Linked DNA regions of Homo sapiens: region 1 is linked to region 2. Evidence: promoter capture Hi-C in 16 types of primary human blood cells and fetal thymus (Javierre and others, 2016). All regions are on one chromosome and are shown on one strand. Each heading gives the region's core, a stretch centred on a gene start or on the middle of the fragment in contact. The rest is flanking DNA. Distances are from core to core; before and after follow the strand shown.

Region 1 (2,700 bases), core at 125-2,624, 360 kb before region 2:
TATAGACTTTCCATCAAATAAGTACTGTACAGTACTCTGATTTCTAAAGTTTGTGAAGTTTGTTACTTGGAACTGTGATAACCATGGCATTTCCGTTAACTGATGGGAATTCATCACTGGGTTGTTCTCTGACTCTGTGGAAGAAACTATGGTAGATAGTCCAGCATGGTGTCAGCTTACCTTTCCTGAAGGAAGAGTACACCCTTGAGTTCCTTTTGCTTTATTTGGGTGTCAGCTATGTCACTGTACTGCCATTAGACCCAGGACATCAGGAGGTCTGAACTTGACCCTTTGTGGGTATCAGATACCGTCAATACCCATGGCTGACATTCAAGACTCAGGTTTGAGTGTTGGACCCTTACATGAATAGTGATATGCACAGATAACTCTTGTCCCAAAAATTCAGCCACATTCACTGAAATCTCAAACCATGAGGTTTGTATTGCTTGTTTAGAAATTGTACCCCTGATTCTAAAAGCAGTTTTTGTCTTCGTGAGCCTTTTTGGTTTTGGGGTTTTTTTGTTTTCTGAGACAGAGTCTTGCTCTGTCACCCAGGCTGGAGTACAGTGGTGCAATCTCAGCTCACCGCAGCCTCCATCTCCCAGATTCAAGCGATTCTCATGCCTCAGCCTCCCGAGTAGCTGGGACCCCAGGCACCTGCCACCATGCCCAGCTAATTTTTGTATTTTTAGTAGAGACAGGTTTCACCATATTGGCTAGGCTGGTCTTGAACTCCTGACCTCAGGTGATCTGCCCGCCTCTGCCTCCCATAGTGCTGGGATTACAGGCATGAGCCACTGCACCTGGCCTCATGAGGCTTTTTGAACAGGAAGTAGAATTTTCAAGTTATTTTAAGAAAATTCAAGCACGAATACATTAATATAATCACTGGATTATAACATTTTAATATGCCTATAGAATGCAGTAGAGAATATAGTTTATTACTGCTTCTCTTAACATTTTTCTGTAATTTTTTCCTGAAAGAACACAAGTGGAAATAGTCTTTTAAATGAATGGTGGTTATCTATTAACTCTGAATTTTCTTTCTTTTTCTCCATTTCTCACCTTTCATTCCATTATATTACCCTGCATTTCCCTTTTATTTTATTTTTGTTTACATTAAAATGCCACTTCCCTTTTTAAATTATTTTCTGCTCAGACACTTCTGAAGTTGATTTATTTGTTATTAATGCTCCATACACTCCAGTGCCAGATCCCACTCCCATGATGCCACCAGTGGGAGTTCAGGCTTCCATTCTGAGTCATGACACCATCAGGATTACGTGGGCAGACAACTCGCTGCCCAAGCACCAGAAGATTACAGACTCCCGATACTACACCGTCCGATGGAAAACCAACATCCCAGCAAACACCAAGTACAAGGTACTGACACATTTGCCCTGGCTGAAAAAAGCTAATCATTGATACTTTCTAATTTTAAAGTCTCAATTCATGTTTTTTTCAGAATGCAAATGCAACCACTTTGAGTTATTTGGTGACTGGTTTAAAGCCGAATACACTCTATGAATTCTCTGTGATGGTGACCAAAGGTCGAAGATCAAGTACATGGAGTATGACAGCCCATGGGACCACCTTTGAATTAGGTATGTGTTGTCAGAAGCCATGTCACATGGCTGCTTTTACTTCCCAAGGAAAGAATTGAGTGCCTGAATTGACATATTTACAAAACACAGTGAGCAACTACATTTGGAATTCAGTGTTTGCTATTTCAGCTGACAAGTTGTGTGTTTTTAATTACTGAACAAGAACATTAGCAAATAACAGGATACTACAGGGAAAACATGATAAATTACAAAGCACTGGGTAGATGTAAGGGATTATTGCCATTAATCCTGCTTTACTGGTAAACTGAGATAGAAAAGATGAAGTGACCTGCCCTTGACCAGGCAGTTCCAATGCCATGCTTGCTTGGAGCCTGAACACTTTGCTGGGTGACCCCAAAGCTGCCTCTGCAGTTTGCTTGCAAGCAAATTAGCGTCTTATAAAATCTTCCACTGAAATAATCCTTAAGGTCTTTGTAAGTGGACACGAGAGGGAAAAGATGACTAAGCAAATTAAAGAGAGAACAGGCTATCTGGGTTTGAGATTCTGTTTGGTTTTTGCTGACTTTTAGACATGCCTTTCTGCTACCCCCTGGGCTTTCCTAGTCTAGGGATATGCATAACCATTTCAAATCTCTGTCTATTTTGGCCTCCTATTTCTCTCCTATATGAATAATGGAGTTATAAATTCTCCACAAACTGGGCTTGGCCTCAGTGTCTTTTTGTCTTCTGCACAGTTCACTGGACTTTGTACAGAGAGAAGGGTTGGATTTGAAGAGTTAGAAATACAGTACATCAAAGTTTAAATAGACCTTGAGTTTGCTTTCTTTGCCAACCATTTTAAGAAAATGTTTTTACTTCAATCCTAACCCATTAGATAACAAATGAGATTGTGTTTTCCCTTAGGATATTTGCATTTCACCAGGCTTCCTTACATTTTATACTAAGAGAATTCTAGTATTTTAGGAAGAGTTGAGTAAATTTAAGGATGTACTTAATTTGCTCATTTTCCTACTAGTGTGTTAAAAGTTTTCAGCTATCACATGGAAACACAGGAAACGTATTGTCCTGTTGCATAAACGAACAGCTTCACTTTAGAGCTGTAACCTCAATAGTTGGCAGTATGTTTGCAGAATAA
Region 2 (2,700 bases), core at 42-2,541:
AGTTGCAGCTATGTGTCCCTGTTTTCCCAAAGGCCCGACCAATATCATACAGCATTTGCCACATCCCAACTCCTCCCTTCCCTAATTTATCCTCCACACTGCAAACCAACATTACACCCCCGACTTCCTGCATTTTACTCCCTTCCCTTATTTTTCGTCTTCCCCCACCCCCATCTCTATACCCAGGCCTCCTTACTTCTCTAATAAATATTCCCCCACCTCAGTTCCAACCCTTTCCCTCCATCCTCTGCTCATTTTCCTCTCCTTATTTAGAAACTCCTTTTTGCTCTCCCAACCACTACCCTAGAATGCCCAGCACTCCACCCTCTTTAGCAAACCCAGCCCTCTTCCCCCAGCTCATTTGGAGACACTGCTGCTTCTCTCTCCAGGTCCCCTACTGCAGTCAACCCACTCCCTCATCTTCCCACCCACCTTCCCTCTATCCCTAGATCCAAGGTTCCCTGATTCTTTACCCCCTCCTTTGGTCTCTAGTACTCAGCTCACCATTAGTGTTCCTCAGGACTCTCTTCCCCCCAATTTCCCCCTTATTTTTAAGGATGTCACCAGTCCTACGGGGCCTCAGTAGAATCCTGGACGACCCCAGCTCCCGGGGGGCCTGACGGACACCACCATCCCCGTCGCCCGGAACACAAACGCCGGTCTTGTGCCACCCTCCCTAAGAGCTGCGCCCCCTCCTCATCCGCCCCCGCTACTCCAGCTCCCCACGTCGGCTTCCTCCGTGTCCCCTCGCCGACCCGGCACGACGAGCCCCACGACGTGGAGCCTCCGAGTGGGCAACACCTCGGGCTCACCCCGGACGCCCCCGCCGCTCGGATAGGAGCCTCCGGTCCTCACACCCGCGCCTCCTCAAACCCGCAGCCGGTACCTCCTCTCGGACCCGCAGCCCCTCAGACGCCCACTCGGCCCCCTTCCCCGAGCTCCAGCGTCTCCTCAGGCCAGAGCCGGGCCCCCTCCGGCCCCGGCGCCCCTCAACCCCCGCCCGGCCCGCCCCCGGCGCCCCGCTTACCGTTCTGAGCGGCGCCTGGCCCTGGGAGGAGGGAGCCAGAGACCAGCAACAGCGAGAGGGCCAGGGCGCTGGGCAGCGACGAACCCGACATCCTCCCTAGCAGAAGACCCAACAGCGAATGGGCCGGGGCCAGAGCCGGGGCCGGGGAAGGGAGGGGAGGGAGGGAGGGGGCGGGCGAGTGCGCGAGGGAGTGAGCGAGGGAGGCAGCCGCGGCTCGGCTCCGTCCTTCCCCGTCCTCCTCCTGCCGCCGCAGCGCCCAGGCCTCGCGAGACCTTCGCTCCGGGTCGTGGGCGGCTGAGGAGCGACCGCCGCAAGGATCGCGAGAAGAGGCGGCTCCGACGGAGACTCCCGCCCCGCGGACTCGGTGGCCCCGCCCCTGCAGAGGCTGATTGGCCTAGCGCGAGGTAGGTCACGTGCCGAGGGCGCCTCTGGCCATGTGACGGGGCGAGGCGGGACTCCGCTAGCTCTCTGGGCAGTGGGGAGCTGGGAAGTCCTTCAGTTTACTCCTCTGTGGCCCGGGAGCACCCATAAATAAGAGGAAGCTTTGGAACACAGTACATTTCCTCCACCCATCCTGCCTTTCATTTGTTAGCGCTCTTGGCTACAGAGTTTCATACACCGTGCCTCCTTTCCTCCTTCCTCTCTTTGTCCCCGTCCTGCTGTTTCTTCCTTCTGGACTTTGAACATAGACCTCTACTGGTAACTGGCTCCAACCTCCTTCTCTCATCTGCTGTTTTTTCCTTCCAGGAAAAGTGGTGCGCCCCCTGTGCCCCCGTTACCTTGTGCTTTCCTGCCTGGACATCTGCTCCCTTTGCCTGAAATGTCCTCCTTTGCCGCCTCTGCCTACTCCCCCTCCCACCCCACATCTGGGCCTTATTTTAGCTTCATAGACTCTCAGGGCCTGAAGTTCAGCTAGCCTAATTGCATGTTCATTGACACAATTCTACAAGGAAGTCGTGTATGAACTTACATGAAGACTCCTAAGAAGCGTCTTAATGCGGAAAACATTTATTGAGAACGTGCTGTGTGCCAGGCACATAGTGAAACCCACATGAAAAGGTAGTCCCCGTCCTCATGGAGTGCACTGCCTAGGCTAGCAGAGGAGTGAGGAAGGGTCAAATGGCCCCATAGGAAAGGATCTAGCAAAGCACTCTGGAGGGTGATTGGCAGTGTGGTTACTACTGTTTGCATAGAAGTTTGGGAAATGCTCTTTTTAGGGGTATTTTTTGTACTACCCTCAGGGCTTGTGGTTGGCAAAGGAATTTCTATGGCTTAGCTCATCCCTGACTCACAGCAGACGTCCTGGGAGTGTCTGTGGAAACTCTGAGGGGCCAAGTAAACAGTCCTGGTGGCCTGACTTGATTTAAAGAGAGGGTTTGGAGGACCTGGAAGAAGGAGACCCTCGCAATCTCTATCAAGCTAAAGTGGTCTGGAACTTTCAACAGGAACTGAACAGCTGGTGGTTCCAGACCAAAATTTCTAGCAAAGGCCAGGACCACTATGGCATGTTGTTGATTGAAGTGAAAACTATGTCCTTCAAAACCTCAGGTGTGTGAGTGACAAAAAGATTGGCATGTACCTTCATCTGGACAAAGGCCATTCTGCAGACAGCCCAGTAAGGAGGGCTACAGGGCTGCCTGTGGTGGGATCAAGATTTTCAGCTGATGGAAGCT

What was found. The method cuts DNA at HindIII sites, captures the fragments that hold promoters and counts their contacts. A CHiCAGO score of 5 or more calls a contact.
Region 1: a contact is called between a fragment that was not itself captured here and the fragment with the promoter of NPTN in region 2, in 1 of 17 cell types (neutrophils). The highest score is 6.4, in neutrophils.

Annotation. Positions count from the first base shown.
Region 1 is chr15:73,268,851-73,271,550 of GRCh38, forward strand. NEO1 (neogenin 1) reads left to right here. Exons shown (of 29, transcript NM_002499.4): 17 at 1,160-1,383; 18 at 1,466-1,604. Among named protein-coding and RNA genes, the nearest start is that of MIR12135, 30 kb to the right of the region's middle. The HindIII fragment of the contact is 4,228 bases long and covers 1-2,700 here.
Region 2 is chr15:73,632,098-73,634,797 of GRCh38, forward strand. It overlaps NPTN (neuroplastin), which reads right to left and starts at 1,292. Exons shown (of 9, transcript NM_012428.4): 1 at 1,028-1,292. The coding sequence starts at 1,118. RefSeq lists silencers at 809-1,068, 1,149-1,448. The HindIII fragment of the contact is 2,824 bases long and covers 1-1,567 here.